Regions from separate parts of the Homo sapiens genome. Here regions 1, 3 and 4 are each linked to region 2. Evidence: promoter capture Hi-C in human tissues and cell types (Jung and others, 2019). All regions are on one chromosome and are shown on one strand. The core of a region is centred on a gene start or on the middle of the fragment in contact, and the rest is flanking DNA. Distances in the headings are between cores, read along the strand shown. Region 1 overlaps PIAS1 (protein inhibitor of activated STAT 1). Region 2 holds the start of MAP2K5 (mitogen-activated protein kinase kinase 5). Region 3 has its middle 2.7 kb from the start of CLN6. Region 4 holds the start of CALML4 (calmodulin like 4).

Region 1 (3,759 bases), core at 198-2,697, 580 kb after region 2:
GGCACTTCAAAAATTTTACTCCACTTCTTACTCTGTTTTCTGCTTGCATTATTTTTGACAAGAAATCTGCTGTTATCTGTATGCTGTTCTATATATTTCCTTTGTCTTTTTTCTTCTGGCTGCTTTGAAGATTTTGTTTTCACTGGGTCTTAAGCAATTTGGTTATGATTTGCTTTGGTGTTGCTTTATTCTTGTTTTTTTGTGCATAGGGTTTATTGATTGCCCTGCCTCAGCACTCCTATTTCTTTTAAATTCTCTCTTCTCTTGCTTTTTCTTCTGTATTTCTGGCCACCTCTTATCTTACTTAACCTTTAAATATTGGTGGTCCTAGGGATTCTGTTGTGTTTTGATTCCACAGGGTATTCTCAGGTCATCTCATTCACTCCCATAACTTAATCTGCTCTCTGTATGAGAGATTTCCTAATTGTTTATCTCTACCCAGACCTCTCTCTAAGCTTCAGGTTAGTATTTCTTTACAGCCATCTCTACTTAAATCCAAAGAAGCCCTATTGAACGTATTTGGAATGAATAGACCTGGAGGACAGCTCACTAAAAAACTTCAAGAGGCTGGGCATGGTGGCTCACACCTGTAATCCCAGCACTTTGGGAGGCCAAGGCGGGCAGATTGCTTGAGTCCAAGTGTTTGAGACCAGCCTGGGTGATATGGCGAAACTCTGTCTCTACAAAAAATACAAAAAATTAGCCAGATGTGGTGGCACACACCTGTAGTCCCAGCTACTTAGGAGGCTGAGGCAGGAGGATCACTTGAGCCTGGAAGATGGAGGTTGCAGTGAGCCAAGATCGAGCCACTGCACTCCTGCCTGGGTAACAGAGCAAGACCCTGTCTCAAAACAAACACCAAATAAACTTTAAGGGCAAAGGATAATCTCAGAGTACTTGGGCAAGTTGCTAGAAAACAGTATTCTCAGGGGAAGCATCAAAGGGGAAAATGGCCAAGTTGATATGGTAGTTGACTTCATTGTAGTTCCACCAGAAAGACAAAAAATAAACAAACAAAACCCTTATATCTGACAGTCGCAGGTAACATAGCGTTGAATACTGTGGTGAACAAGAAATTGAAACTATAGTTCTCAAGGGAGTTAGGCCCTAGAAGAATCACTTGTGAGCCAGAAGGGAGGAATAAGGACAAGGGAGTCCTAGGTGGCAACTATTGGATGGTTTAGAACTCTGCCAAGCTAAAAGGATAATGTGAGATTTACCTGAACTCATGAAGTGAAATGCAATCCTAGAGGCTAGTAAGTTGCTGCTAGGAAATAACAATGAAAAAAATCCTTTCACAGTGGTTCTAAAACACTTTATAAATCCTATTTCTTTTAATTATTTAATCATTTTATTTTGGTTGGTTTTATAGGAAGAAAATGAAATGCTATTAGCTTAATTTGATTGCCACACCAAGATGAGTAGACTCTCTTCATAAAGTGGGGAACAAATGAAAATCTTTGAAACAGAAGTGATATGATCAGCACTGTGCTTATTATATATACCCAAAATACATTTTTGGAAGAGTAATAGTCACTATTTTTTCAAAACTTAGCAATGCAGTATCTGCAGTGATTCCCTTTCATTTAGTTTCTCATCCAACTAAATAAGCCAACTAGAGGAACCCTAAGAAAATAGAATTTTATTTTCTTTCTTGGGAAGTATCTGCAAGAATTGAGAAGCTTGGAAACATTTCTTGTAAGGTAAAAGCTGTTTTTTTTTTTTTAAGCCTAAATCTCAGAGTGTTATACATACAAAATTCTTTTTATTTTTTTCTTTTTCTTTTTGAGAGAGAAGGTCTCATTCTGTCTCCCAGGCTGGAATGCAGTGGTACAAGCGTAGCTCACTGCAACCTCAAACTCCTAGGCTAAAGTGGTCCTCCTGCCTTATCCTCCCAAGTAGCTAGGACCTACTGGTGTGAGCCACCATGCCTGGCACATTTTTAAAACTTTTTGTAGAGAGTGTCTTGTAGTGTTACTCAGGCTGGTCTCAAACTCCTGGCGTCAAGCAGTCCTCCTGCCTTGGCCACCCAGAGTGCTGGGATTACAGGTGTGAGCCACCACACCTGTCCCAAAATTCTTATATGCAATTCTACATACCCTCTTACACACAGAGACACACAAAGTTATGAGTTTACTGTTCTGGGGCATTTTTTAAATGTTAAAATTGCAACTACTACTTAGTCTCATTTTCTTGTCTATAAGTCTTGGCATATGTCATGTATCTATTTTAGAAAAGTAATTTTAAAGTTAGTAGATTAAGAAACAACATGGTTGTACTAAAAAGTGCCTTATATATAAAAAAATCTTTCCATGGAATACCATGGAGACTATTTTTCCTTATGTTAAATAACATGGAGGAGTCTGCACTATAGGAAACAATTTGCTTAGAAACTAATTTAAAATTACTCAGAGCCACATCTAGAAATGTAAGTGAACTCACAGGAGTAGTACCTAATTAAGTATATTCTGTGATATTATAGAAACCTTATTTATAAAAGGAAACTTGTATAATTTCTGTCTTCAGGGCATTTATTGATAAAATAGATGTACCTTCACTACTGCTATGCTTCATTGTAAATGATAATGTTGATCTGTATTTGTACCATGTCCAAACATAATTATAGGCGGAAAACACAGGCAACAAAGATGTGGACATAATATAAACCTAAATATAGGTATATGTATACATATGTGTGAATATACACACACACACACGTATACATATATGTACACATACGTGTGTACATATGTATACACATGCACAAAAAGATCTGAGAAAGTATATGCTAGTAATACCTTTATCTCTCTGTGTCTGTATTGTCTGAATTTTTATAATTGTGTAATCTTTATTGATAATGATGGTGGGAGGTTATTTTTATTTTGAAATGAAAAAATAACATGGGTATTCCAGAGAATTTGAATCAGGGTATTACTCTTGCATTCTTCAACTACTGATGGCTATAACTATGTAAAGAAGTAAAACATTTCCTGTAAAGACAGTCAGAAGTTAGGAAGATCTCATCTTTATCCTGTGGACATACAGATATTTTTTCTTTGGCCCATTTACCACAGTCGTGACTTCCACTATTTCTTGGGTTGTGGTTTTTTTTGTTGTTGTTTTTTGTTTTTTTTTTTTCATTCAAAGTTATAAATGAACAGCCAGGTGTGGTGGTTCACTCCTGTAATCCCAGCACTTTGGGAGGCCGAGGCTGGCGGATCACTTAAGGTCAGGAGCTTGAGACCAGTCTGGCCAACATGGTGAAACCCCATCTCTACTAAAAATACAAAATTAGCCGGGTGTGGTGGTGCATGCCTGTAATCCCAGCTACTTGGGAGGCTGAGGCATGAGAATCTCTTGAACCGGGAGGCAGATGTTGTTGTGAGCTGAGGTTGCACCACTGCACTCCGGCCTGAGCAACAGAGAGAGACTCTGGCTCAAACAAACAAACAAACAAATAAACAAAACCCAAAAGTTATAAATGAATATAGTTTAAAATGTCAAATAGGCTCATTTTAAAAATCCCATGTTCTCATATTCTATCATTTCTGTCTTTCTAGGGGCAAGTATTTTGATCTCTTTTGGCTTTTAAAAAAATGTATAAGTAATATGCTTGCATTGCAAATTGTTGCATTTTCAGTTTTAGGCATTGTATATTGATTTCCCACCATGGGAGATAAGATTTGGCTTATTTGCCACTCCTACCGTATAATCTGTTTGTCGCCCTGTCTTGATTATATTGTAATTTTGTTTGGATCA
Region 2 (4,313 bases), core at 139-2,638:
ATTAATCAAGCACCTTACTGTTAGAAGGGAAACTGACAAGCCTCCTCAACCGAGTTTATACAAAATTCAACCCCAGAAAGTAAAGCCAATTCGTGCACCTTCATAAGAAAGAAATAAAGGACGAACCTACACATTACAATTTGTAAAGAAACTTCTGTAGAGGCACCATCGTTCTACAACCTTATGCACTTTAAAATCTGAGGTAACAAGGCATTTGAAGATAACCAAGGTTGGCCGGGCGCGGTGGCTCACACCTGTAATCCCCCCAGCACTTTGGGAGGCTGAGGTGGGCGGATCACGAGGTCAGGAGTTTGAGACCAGCCTGGCCAACATAGTGAAACCCAGTCTCTACTGAAAATACAAAAATGAGCGGGCACGGATGGCGCACGCCTGTAGTCCCAGTTACTCGGCAGGGGTTGGGGGCTGGTGGGGGTGGTAGTGCTGAGGCAGGAGAATCGCTTGAATCCGGGAGGCTGAGGTTGTGGTGAGTAGAGGTCGCGCCGTTGCACTCCAGCCTGGGCGACGGAGCGAGACTCCGTCTCAAAAAAAAAAAAAAAAAAGATAACCAAGGTTTATTGCTACTTCCGTGATATCACCATATCACCAACTGCGTAAGCAGTGCTATTTAGTTGAAAATACATGGACTAGACCGAATATTTCTGCAACAGTTTAATAAGAGACGATGATGCGACTACTGCAGCTGTCCCCAGGCAATTAAACTCTTCGGCGAATTTCTTTACTATTGCTTTTGAACAGGGAACTGTTTGCTATTTTAGGGCACTCGTGCGGTAAAGAACTTCACTGAAAAATGCAAATATGTTTTGCTAATGTGGGAGAAAGATGATGATCCTCTGAACCTGTGACTTGGAAGGGGGGATAAAAAAGAACTATTTCTTGAATTCTTGCCTTGCTCTTGCTGATTCGATGCACACAACCCCACGAACATTCAGATTCATGGCTTGACAAAGTGGGGATAACCGGGAGCTGCAGCCCCGTCTTTGAAGCTTTTGTAAAGACAAACGGTCTGCAATGTTAAGCCTTAAATTGGCTTTTGGCGGACTCCAGCCTTTTACCCTTCGTTTGGTAGATGTTTTCACCTCGCTGTCATTAAGCAGGGTCAGGAAATGGAAGGGCCGTGACCGGGTCGCCGCGGGCGCTCTGTGGGCGATGAGGGTCTCCTGAGCGAGCAAGACCAGTCTCTCCCCGACTCGCCACGCGCCACGCGCCGCGCGCCGCGCGCCGGTTCCTCGGCTTCCCACGCCGGGGGCGCATCCTCCCGGGAGCTGCTGCCCTTTTCCAACATGGCGCCGCGGGAGGCGGGTCCCGCTCGTCGGCTCCCGGGGTTCCGGCGCCGCGCGTTTTGGTTCCGGAGTAACAGTGTCGCCGCCGCCTTCCTCCTCCTCCTCTCGCCGCTACCGCCGTCGCCGCCGCCGCAGCCGCCGCCAGTCCGCGCGGCCTCGGGTGGCCGGAGCTCAGCCTGCGCGCGCCGCGCCCTGTGTCTCCGGGTGGGGCAGAAGACTCGCCCCTTGAACCTCCCGCGGGGACTCTCCGTGGTGTGGCGGCCCTGGGGCTCTTTCTTAATAGCCCCGGACTGAGTCCCCTCCAGTCGAGGACCCTCTCCTAGTCCACTGACGAGCGGTGGACACCTGCCGCTGTATCTCCCCCAAACCGAGTCCTTGCCCTGCTGCCTCCTCATACCCACACGGCGGCAGAGACCTTCACCATAGCGTTCGCTCAACTCCAGAACCTTCCGACCTCCGCTAGTTCCTGCGGGCCTTTGCCCGCTTCCCGGTGCACCCTCCCCGGGAGACACCTCAGACCCCCGACAGCCTGGGCAGGCTCGGTGCCTGCGGGTGCGTTCCTGATCACCCCTCCCCTCTTCCCTCCCCCTCATCCTCCATTCCCTTGTTTTCACCCTCTGTCCTCTGCCCGTCACTCCCCTTGTCACCTCTTGGAGCCCCCTCCTAACCAGCGGCCAGTGGGTTTCCCATACCCCAGGATGTGAGCCTCTTTAACCTGTAATGCTGTGGCTAGCCCTTGGCCCCTTTCCTGCCATGGAGAACCAGGTGCTGGTAATTCGCATCAAGATCCCAAATAGTGGCGCGGTGGACTGGACAGTGCACTCCGGGCCGCAGTTACTCTTCAGGGATGTGCTGGTGAGTGGTAATCTCAGTGTCCGGATGCCAGCAAGGGGGACTCAGGGACTTGAGTAGTCAGCACCTTGACCACTGGTGACCTGAGCCAGTGGCAATGGCTACTGCTGGCTTCCTGTGGAGGCAGTTTTATTGCTTCAGGCACAGCATTGATAAATTGCAACCACTAAAACCTGGCAAATGTCTAGGACCCTGGGGAGATAGATCAATCTGACTGAACCCCTGCCCTCAGAGAGCTCATGGCCCGGGCTGGGACACACATATAGACACAACCACGCAAATGCAAACTGCTGAATCTAGAAGAGAGGTTTTTTCCCCCCAAGTGTTTCGGGGAATGTCCTTGGACAGATTCCAGCCTTGTTTTTCTACTGAGTTCTCTGAACTTGGTGACCAGCTGAGAAAGGGAAAAAGGACAACTTTAACTTACCATGTTTGAGCACACTGTTTCATTAATTTATTTTGAGACAGGGCCTCACTCTGTCGCTCAGGCTGCAGTGCTGTGGCACGATCTCGGCTCACTGCAGCCTCTGCCTCCTGGGCTCAAGCGATTCTCCTACCTCAGCCTCCCAAGTAGCTGGCACATGCCATCACACCTGGATAATTTTTGTATCTTGTAGAGACGAGGTATTGCCATGTTGCCCAGGCTGGTCTTGAACTCCTGCGATTTGCTTGCCTCGGCCTTCCCAAAGTGCTGAGATTACAGGTGTGAGTTACTGTGCCCAGCCTGAGCAAACTTAAAGCATCATTGAATGTAAGACATTTTACTTAGAAAAAAATGCTAACCATGACAGTATGACACATCATCCGTTATTAAAATGAGTCCAGTTTCAGAGACGGTAAAAGTAAGGGAAAATGTGCATCTTAGAATTGGTGATATTTTACATTCAGATTTTTCAGAATATATTTCAAATAAAATGATGGAATTTTAGAGCAGAGTGTAACACTGTAGGTGGCCTGTTCAGCTGATGTTTCTTTTTTGCAGATAGTTACTGAGGAGCAGTGAGGTGAAATGGCTTTTCCAAAGCTGTGAGCTCCTGAGTGGGAGAGTCAGTACCAGAACTAAAATTTTGTTTCATTGACTTAGTAGGTTTCTTTCCCTACATGTTGCAGCCGCTTCTAATCTTTCTGGTATTCATTTGAGATAGACAGGGTGCCTTGTGCCCATTCTACATGCAGAATAACTGAGGCATGGAAGACAGAAGCGGACATTCCGAAAAGCACATCACTACCTGCAAGTTAAGAGTGGGCAAGGTGGCAGGATCTTGGGAAGAGGAAGATTTGTGATGTGATTTTTCATTGTCTTGGGTAACTTAATCAAAATTTGATTTCTATAACTTCATTTTGAGTTCTAGATGTTACTGACTGCCCAGGCCATGCAGATTTTTGGGTGCCTTGACCAGGAGCTTTCCATATTGTGCATCAAATGCCATCCTTCTCTTTGTATCCGGAGTTCTCCACACAGTCATGCACATACAGATTTCCCCTCATGATAAGGCCCAGGCTCCTTCATGTGGTCCTCTGGGCACATCTGGATTGGCCCCTGTCTGCCTGGCACCTGTGTCATCTCTCTTCACGGCCCCATAAACTTCTGTGCCTCACTTACATAGGTTGATTTTCATTTCTCCCAGGTGTCCAGGCTGTCTGCACTCTGCTCTTCACCGGTCAATTCCCACCTGTCCTTCCAAGCCAAGTTGTGCTTTTTCTCTGTGTCATTCTTGGTTATGTGCCCCACCTCTGTGTCGTCACAGCTTTGTGTGGGTCCCCCAGCAAAGCACATGTTTGATCATGATTCTTTGTCTCCTCCACTAGATGGTAAACTTCTGGAGGAGATAGATATGTTTGTTTTTGTTTCTTCATAGGACCCCAAAATACTTGTTTAAGAAGGGAGCTTAAAAGAGGATGCATGCAATTATGGTTCTGTGGACAGAACACTAGGTTTAGAGTCAAGGAATTTGGGTTTAATTGCAAGCTGTCCCACTGACTAGGCAAGTCAGTCTACCTCTCTGAGCCTTAGTTTCCTTATTTGTAAAACAGGGAAACTTGTACCTTCCTCAAAGACTTGGAAAGATTATGTGAGATTGTGACTGTGATGAGAAAGATGGGTTTTCTCTTACTCATTTAAAACAATGGAAGGTTGATTATTATGTGATTATATTATTT
Region 3 (3,976 bases), core at 601-3,100, 690 kb after region 2:
CCGGTGGTCTGAAGCTGAGGCGAGACCTGGGAACCCAGTGGACAGGCTCGTGAGTCACCGGAGCATACAAGACAGACAGAACCTAAGGGGACAGCATCCTCAAGTGAAAAACAGAACCAAAGGTCAAACCTGAGAACAGCCTGCAGGGCAGATTGCCAGGACTTCATTAGTGGTACCACTTTGAACTAGCTGTGATGCGGGCAAATGGCTCAACCCCTCACAGCTTCAGTTTACTCATCTGTAACAAGAAGATGCCTATTGCATCTACTACATTGGAGTTGTGATGACTATATGAAACTCTTAGCAGAGAGCCCAGCACTGGTGGACTAAGTTATTTACAATAGCCCGTCTCGAGACCTGAGGTTTCCCTCCACAGAAAGGTTACCTTCCACACCACTGTCAATGTCACAAACTCTCTCCTCCCCACGGTCACTGTCAGCAGCCCAGGCCGCTAACTAGAACAACTGCAACCAACTCCCATTCTCCCCACCACCCCCGTGCTACACCAGGCGCACACGACATGTGCAGGTCTCCAGTCCTGTCTCCTCTCACCCAGCCCTCAAGCCGCTGCAGAAGGGATGTGCCTCTTGGAAGGGATGTGCCTCAGATGCAAATGCAATGTGCCATTCCCCTGCCCAGTATCCTTGGTCTGCTTCCCAGACCATGAGGGGTCTGAGCTATGCCTATTTCCATTCTATTTTCTTTCCTGTCTTTCTTCTTGGGAGATGTTTATTGGATTTATTTCTTTCCCCTTTGGTCAGAACCTGCATGTCCTTTCTTGGCTGTGGGAGGCTAGGACTGCCTGCCTGGGAGTCATTTTCCATCAGCCCCATCCTGGGCTCTAGCAGCCCACAGGCCACACCTCAATCCCCCCCCTCCGCCCCTGGTCCCCTGAAGAACACATTTGCTTTAAAGCTTTCCTTGTTTCATTTGATCCACACACACCAGGTCGTAAGGAGAACAGGTGATTGTCTCTGTTTTGTAGCAGAGAAAAACCTAGGCCCTGAGCTGAAGTACTGTGCCCAAGGGTCAGCCAAGGACAGCACTCAGACGGGGCCCCAGATTTAATTCTGGTGAATCTGATCTACACATCGATCTCGGTATACACCAGAGAAGAAGGATTGAGGCTTCCCGCTCTGACCCCAATTTCTTATCCTCTGCAGGCTTTGCAAGCCTGCTGGGCTCCAGAGGGAGGGGCATGCAGTGCCCATGATGTCATCATCGATTTAATAACACTCAGAGGTGGGCTTCCAGCCATCAGAGGATGAGGCCGTGTGGAGGGAGCCTCTCTAGCTCATTTAATCCTCCAATCTCTTAAATACAAACACATCTGCCTTTTTTCTGGAGTCCGCTGCTACCCCTTGAGGGGAGGGGAGTCCAACCTGGCAGGGGGCTGGGCCTTTCTGAATGAACAAGATGAGAATTCTCCCTGTCCGGTGGGATTATCAGCCCCCTCTCTTTCCCATCCCACCAGGACACTTTAAAAACACCATCTTCATTAGCTCTTTAAATTGCATGGAAATTTGGGGGAGGAGGATAGAGTAAAGCTGAGGGGTACACATTTGCAGGATCTTGTTTGTGATTATCTGAGAACATGGGCCCTGCACATCAGAAGGGAGTCTAGTCTCAGCTCTCTGAGCTGCAATTTCAGTGGCCAGCATCAAGAAATCTTTCAGCTGAGAAGGTCCTTTGGTATTATGCATCTTGGTGGTTTTGACTTTTCTTTTAGTAGAGGTTCCCACTACTTTTCAATTATAGCTGTATCCGATATTTTTTTTTTTTTTTGAGACGGAGTCTTGCTCTGTCGCCCAGGCTGGAGTGCAATGGCACGATCTCGGCTTGCTGCAACCTCTGCCTCCCTGGTTCAAGTGATTCTCCTGCCTCACCCTCCCAAGTAGCTGGGACTACAGGCATGCACCACCACGCCTGGCTAATTTTTTATATTTTTAGTAGAGACGGGGTTTCACCATGTTAGCCAGGCTGGTCTTGATCTACTGACCTTGTGATCTGCCCGCCTTAGTCTCTCAAAGTGCTGGGATTGCAGGCGTGAGCCACTGCACCAGGCCTGTATCAGATACTTTTAAATGTATCGCCTAAGATCCGTTAGACACACCAGTCTTCCAGCTCCTTGCCACTTGTTTTGTCCAGCTGCTGTGACAACTGACTTCACCCAGGCAGAAGTCAACTGCACCTCCTCTCCCCTTGGCCCCACACCCTTGGCCTCAGAAGTGCAGGAGTGTTGGACACTCCATGGAGTGAACTTTGACCAGCAAGAGACAGGGATTAGCAAATAAATTTTTCTCTCTTCCTCTTTCTGGACAGACTGGCCTGAGTTCCGAGTTCACACAGCCACTTTAAAGAAGGTCCTGGGCCATGCGCAGTGGCTCACACCTGTAATCCCAGCACGTTGGGAGGCCAAGGTGGGTGGACCACGTGAGGTCAGGAGTTCAAGACCAGCCTGACCAACATGGTGAAACCCTGTCTCTACTAAAAATACAAAAACGAACTGGGTGTCGTGGCATGTGCCTGTAATCCCAGCTACTTGGGAGGCTGAGGCAGGAGAAATTGCATGAACCCAGGAGGCAGAGGTTGCAGTGAGCCGAGATCACGCCACTGCACTCTAGTCTGGGCGACAGAGCAAGGCTCAGTCTCAAAATAAATAAATAAATAATAAAGAAGGTCCTGTAAGGTCTAGCATCCTTCCAGACGGAGTGGTGGCCAGCTCCGCAGTGCACTCTCTTGTGTGCCCTCCCTTCTCCTCTGTCTCACTCCCCCTTGTCCTCACTTCCCCTTCCCAGCCACCACACTCCCCAATACAGTGTTAGCATACATGCTGCCCTGCTCTGCTTCTTTGGAAACCTGGGCTAAGACAAAGATCTTTCCAGCATGCTCAATGTATGAAACACCTACGGGGGGGTGGGGGGGGTGGTGCCCTGAGTGAAGAGAAGCAGGGTCCCAGGTGCCATCTCTTCTCCCCTTATGGTTACAAGGCCGTGGCCAAGTCACCTCCAAAGGGCTCCCTGGAAAGCCTTTGATCTTGCCTAATTTCATCATTCTGCAGCTGCGGAAAATGAAGCCTAAAGCCACACAGCGAGTTAGAAGCCAAGCCAGGCCAGAATCCAGTCTCCACTCCTAATCCAGTACCCTTTCTATCCAGTCTCTTAAGAGCTTTTGAAAATTTCTCTTTCTTCAAAACATCTTCCCACACTGCCCTGCCACCAGAAGGCTTTGAAGGCCCCTGCTAGACTGCAGCTACCATCTGAGAGACATGACACACAGAATCCTGGATCCAGAGGCTGGGACTCCAGAAGGCAGACAGACGAAGTGGGACCAGGAAAACTCAGTTACTTTGGAGAGAGGCAGCCAGGAGGGGCCTGACTAGGGGATCTCTAAGTGTGGGCAACAAGACTGTGCACAGTGAGAAGGCTGCACAAGGACAGACAGCAAGGGACTGGGGCACTGGGGGAAGATGGAGACTGTCTTTCTGTGTCAACTGGTATTGCCTGCAGGACACTCCCCATCTGGCTGAAGAAGCTGGGAGGGTGACCAGAAGTCACACTGTGGGGAGAGAGAAGGTCCCCAGGTTGTGTTTAATTCAGATTCTTGTGGTTGTGATTACTAGAAGCAACGGGGGACAGGTTGATGACAAAAGGGGATTTCTATTACAAGGATTTAGGGGTGTCTTAGGGAACCTAAGCATAAGGATGCAGTTGGGCCTCAGGAACTGAGAATGGTGCTGGGACTTTGGGAGCCCAGGAAGGCACCACCCACAACACTGTTTCCATGTCATCCTTCTCTCTTTCTCCCTGCAGACTGGCTTTCCTGGCTTTCCAGGAAATACAGCAGCCGACGGCCTCAGTCAGCAGCTCCCAAGTTTATCTTTCTTCCATCCAAGAGATAAGCAGAATGTGGGTGGCCTCTTCTGGGCCCAATTCAAAATTCCCGCGGAGGGATTCTGATTGGATGGCTTGAGCCA
Region 4 (4,314 bases), core at 441-2,940, 660 kb after region 2:
ATGCCTGGCCCAGCGTCCAGCATGTAACTGACATTATTCCCCTCTGTCCGTGGCTCGCAGCAGCCTGGTAAGGTGGCATATCCTACTTCATAGGTGAGAAAACCGAGGCTCAAGGGTGATTAGGCTTCAGGTCTGCTGCCTCCAAAGCCCCTGTTCTTCCCACTTCGCTAGGCCACCCCATCCAGTCTTTCACACACTCATTAAACACTGGTGGCCACTTTCTTGGTGTCAGATACTGGGATACAAAGACAATTTACCTTCTTCCCTTCTGGGAGCTTTGGCTATCCCAGGAGGGAGGGTCAGTGAGCCTCAAAACCAGGCATGGGTGGGAGGATGCTGAGGCTGAAGGCTGGACTCCAGCCCTCAGTCCACCATTCATTATCACCGTTAGACCTGGACAAGAGGGCACTGCCCCGGGCCCTGTGTTTTAAAAGTCCCTGCTCCTGCCCTGGCCCTCCTCTTGGGATAAAGAGTTCCAGGGTTCTACGTGGAGGTGCCCACCTGGAGCTCACAATTCCTGCCCCTCTGGACCAAGCTCAGAATACCCAGAACTCTGGAACTCCTGCCCAGGTAACCCTAACCCCACTTGGCTGGGCTCTCAGGACCCTACCCTGGATCACAAGGGCCCAAGGTGCCTGTAATTTTATCTCCAGTGGTCAGCGAAGGACTCACTGAGAAGGCGATGTTTCAGCAAAGACCTGGAGGAATGGGATGCCTCGGGGGACTCTCAGGCCCATTGACGTCCACTGTTGGGACAGGTTTCAGGGTCACAACCTCAAGCAGCAGCTGGCTGTGCCTCCTGGGCCTCTCCTGCCAGGTGCAGGGGGGCTGCAGCCATGAGGCTCCCCTGGCTCAGGTCTGGGCCCCCAAGTTCTTTGTAACGCAACTCTTTGCTCTTGGCCTTCTGGAAATAGAACCCTGCACGGTGTGAAACTGAAGCCTGGTCGAGGGCTGGCAGAGTAGGGGACCCAGGGAATAAAGTGCTCACGCCCAAACCAGGCTTGATGCCAGGGCAAAGGGGGCTCAGTGGACCCTCCATTTTACAGATAGGGAGACTGAGGCGCAGAGAGTAGACGCATCCTGCCAGAGAGTGCAGACCTGGCCTCTGTTCTGTCTCAATTACAAAGCCCCTCCTCTTTCCCTGCTGCCAGCCATACCTTTAATGGTCTCTCTCTCCATCCCCAGTCCCCTCAGTCCCCAAATCCAACTGGTCAGGTTCTGGAGGGAAACCTAGTAAGTTCTGTCTTAGCGCCCTGGCTTGTAAGTCACACTGACAAGTATAAAGCCACATGTCTATTTTGGAGGCTTACCCCCAACCCCCACCCCGCCAACAGCAGCCTCCCCGCAGCTCTTGGCCCTGGGTGGGCCCAGCTCTCCCACAGCCACCTTCCTTCCCACCAAGAAAACATGAGCAGAGCAAATTGCCTAATGAGACCCATATTTTGCTGAGTTGCTAATCAAAGAACAAACCCAACCTACCATTAATTTGGTCTTGGGAAAGAAACTTGGCCTGCAGCAGAGAAAGGAAAACAGTCAGGGGAGGGCTCCACCTGAGGTTCACGCCCCCAGCCCTGGCCAGGCCGACACAGACCCTCACACTCACCATTCTGGGGCCTCGGCTGCTACCCGTGGGCTTGCTGCTCCCAGAACCGCGTTCAGTTCCCTTTCCTCCAGCCTCAAGTCTAAAGTCTGCCAAGCTGGGTGGAGGCCCGGGTAATAAATGCTCGGCTGCCATGGAGACTGGGCCCGACGCCACCAGGGTCAGATTCCAGCTTCCTGAGCACAGCTCATGACCCGCCACCTGGGCAGGTTGGATTTTTGAGGAAATGGGGCTGCAGAAGGCTCTCCCTGGGCTCAGAGTCTCTGCCTCCAGAAGCCGAAGCAAAGGGACAAATGCCAGTGTTTCTTCCCGGGAGCCCTGGACTCCAGGAAGGGGTCTTCTCTCTCTCTCCTGGGACTCGGCGGGGATGCCATCAGGCCCCTACTAGAGTTGGACACTTTACACCCCGGGTCGTATTGAAGGCTCCTCACACACCATCTTGTAGGAGGAAGGGAACCCTTCCAAGACGGCCTAACTCAGAGATGGGCACCGGGGCTCGCAGGCTTGGGGCTCGGTATTGCAGGGATACAAGCTTCGGTGCTCTCAGGCTGGGATTCAGTCCTCCCCGTCTGCTGACTTGCTGAGTGACTGGCGAATCATTCTACCTCAGTCTGTGCCTCAGTTTCCTCACCAGCTGAATTACAGGGCAGCTGGCAAAATCAAGTGGCCAGCGCACAGCCGGTTCCCATCCTGTGCCAGTTCAGTTCCCACCTTCTGAGGACTTTAAGGGTGGTGGAGGGGCCTGAGCCGGGTCTCCAGCCCCACCACAGGCTCCTCGGGGGCTTGGAGTGAGGCCTCTTAGTGCCGGTTACCCTGGCCAGGAAGGCTCCCCTTTTCTTCCTTCCCTTCCTCTCTCCACCCTCAGCCCCACCCCTTCCGCAGAAGCTGCTGACGCTCCCAAGTCTTCAGGAGTTCGTGCTGCTCCCCTCCCCCACATAGGAGGAAATGGGGGCAGGGTGTGAGGCCTCCCCAGCTTCTTCCCCTTGAGATCCCATTTCCCTGTTTGGGGCGTGAGGCTTTTGTCCACAGCTGAGTCTATGAGGCTCTACAAGTAGGTGTGGCTGCACAGGTGTGCCCTACACAAAGGCCCCCAGCCCAGGTGCGAGTGGTTGCTGGCCAGGGGCTGCACTGCCAATAGGAAGGGGGGCATTGTGCCACTTTGCACACAGGCGCATAGACGGGAGGCGCTGCCTGTGCCCCACTCTCCCCTCCCCGCTCCTTTCCTGACCGCCTCTGTGTGGAAAGTGTGCTTTTCTCCCAAATCACATCCCCAGAATCGCTTTACACCTGTTTCTAGACCCAGAGAATTTTAGCTGGGGACTCCGACTCCTCCCTGTCAGAGTTTGAGGCTCCCCCTCCCAAACCCCATGGCAGGGATAAGAGGAGGGAAGGCTGCCTCTGTGCAGAGGATGGAGAGAAGGACATCAAGGAAAGTCACTTGGGACTCTGGAAGCCTGAAGGCGGCCAGGCCAACATGCTCCCTCTGAATCCCCTTGCCTGTGGGAAGGGGCTCCAGAAGAGATGAGGTGCCTCCTTGGAGTTAGGCCAGTGTGTGCTGGGGTGCCCCGGCCAACTCCCTCCTTATGTGTGTAGGTGTCTCCGGGGGTGACGCACAGATGGAAAACACCAGCGTGGGGCAATGGCTGCGTGAGGGTTCACGATACAGCAACTCACCATGCTGTAGGGCGCACCGTGTGTGCTACACCTCAGCACGAAAGGGAGAAAAGACAAAAAACACCTCTAACACCACTTGGGGCTGTGACTGTATTTACTTCATTCTTGAATCCCGCGTCCCCGTGGCTGGGGGCTGACACATCCCTGGGCACCACTGTGACTTCCTGTGGGTCCCTTCCCTTCTGTCCCTGACTCTGTAGACCCCCCACAGGAAGGGTCCTAGGTAGGGGGAGGTTCCTCCTCCCTTGAAACCCTGGGCCACTCTGTCAAGGCAAAGCCTCTGGGCCCAGCACCTTGTAAAGGCTTTGATGAGAGGAGCTCTGGCTTTTGCTCAGGGCCTTTGGCACCCCACCCTCCAGCCCCCAGGAATGCAGGCGCTCAAAGCCTGTGGCTAGGCTGCCCGAAGCGCGTGCCGCAGTTCTTCTGGAGTGGGAGCAGGGGGACAGAGCTTTGGGTAGAGGAGGGTCACCTGCAAAGCTGGAATGCCAGGGGAGTGGGCGGTGCCTCCAGCTCCTGGGGGCCAGGGTGTCTCCATACCTCATGGGCCTGAGCCTGGGCAGGGGTCTGGAGTGCACATAGCCCCCAGGCAGGGAGAGGGCAGTGACAGGACAGAGCCACTCATCTGTCCCAAAGCTGCACCCAAGGGGTGTCAGCAACCCCAACCTACTGACCTACTTTGGGACCACAGGCCCATCTAGTGCAAATGAGGCCCAGAAAGGAGAAATGCTTTGCTCAACAGCCACAGTAGGCTGACGTAACCTATGTAATGTAGGGTCAGGGTGGGCCTGAGGGATGAGCCAGGTGGTGGGCAGGTGACACACCAGGTCCCCTCCTGGCCTCTGCCCCACCCAGCCCTCTCCTGCACGGCTACCAGAAGATGTCCGGGAAGAACAGACTAGCCCTGAGTAGGGAGTGTGGTCAGGTGCAGAGGAGGGCAGGGGCCCGGATCCTGGCCCAGAAACACTCTAAAACAGAATCCGATCCTGAGATGATCCAAATCAAACAGAAACTTGACGGAAATAGTAGAGTCTGAAAATGAT

What was found. Contacts are between HindIII fragments. The study calls those that stand out against the background at their distance.
Region 1: a contact is called between a fragment that was not itself captured here and the fragment with the promoter of MAP2K5 in region 2, in 1 of the 25 tissues and cell types used here (lymphoblastoid cells).
Region 3: a fragment that was not itself captured here is called in contact with the fragment with the promoter of MAP2K5 in region 2 in 1 of the 25 tissues and cell types used here (dorsolateral prefrontal cortex).
Region 4: a contact is called between the fragment with the promoter of CALML4 here and the fragment with the promoter of MAP2K5 in region 2, in 2 of the 25 tissues and cell types used here (adrenal gland and dorsolateral prefrontal cortex).

Annotation. Positions count from the first base shown.
Region 1 is chr15:68,121,281-68,125,039 of GRCh38, forward strand. The region is part of intron 2 of PIAS1 (protein inhibitor of activated STAT 1); the gene reads left to right. Among named protein-coding and RNA genes, the nearest start is that of PIAS1, 69 kb to the left of the region's middle. The HindIII fragment of the contact is 4,758 bases long and covers 1-3,759 here.
Region 2 is chr15:67,541,315-67,545,627 of GRCh38, forward strand. It overlaps MAP2K5 (mitogen-activated protein kinase kinase 5), which reads left to right and starts at 1,389. Exons shown (of 22, transcript NM_145160.3): 1 at 1,389-2,156. The coding sequence starts at 2,022. MAP2K5-DT (MAP2K5 divergent transcript) reads right to left here and starts at 1,316. Exons shown (of 1, transcript NR_186334.1): 1 at 1-1,316. RefSeq lists enhancers at 329-829, 482-531 and a silencer at 1,405-1,524. The HindIII fragment of the contact is 7,088 bases long and covers 297-4,313 here.
Region 3 is chr15:68,230,391-68,234,366 of GRCh38, forward strand. It overlaps a transcript of CLN6 not described here. Among named protein-coding and RNA genes, the nearest start is that of CLN6, 2.7 kb to the left of the region's middle. RefSeq lists an enhancer at 33-82. The HindIII fragment of the contact is 2,814 bases long and covers 444-3,257 here.
Region 4 is chr15:68,203,642-68,207,955 of GRCh38, forward strand. It overlaps CALML4 (calmodulin like 4), which reads right to left and starts at 1,691. Exons shown (of 5, transcript NM_033429.3): 1 at 1,604-1,691; 2 at 1,480-1,510. The coding sequence starts at 1,606. CLN6 (CLN6 transmembrane ER protein) reads right to left here. Exons shown (of 7, transcript NM_017882.3): 7 at 3,351-4,314. RefSeq lists an enhancer at 2,390-2,684. The HindIII fragment of the contact is 22,474 bases long and covers 1-4,314 here.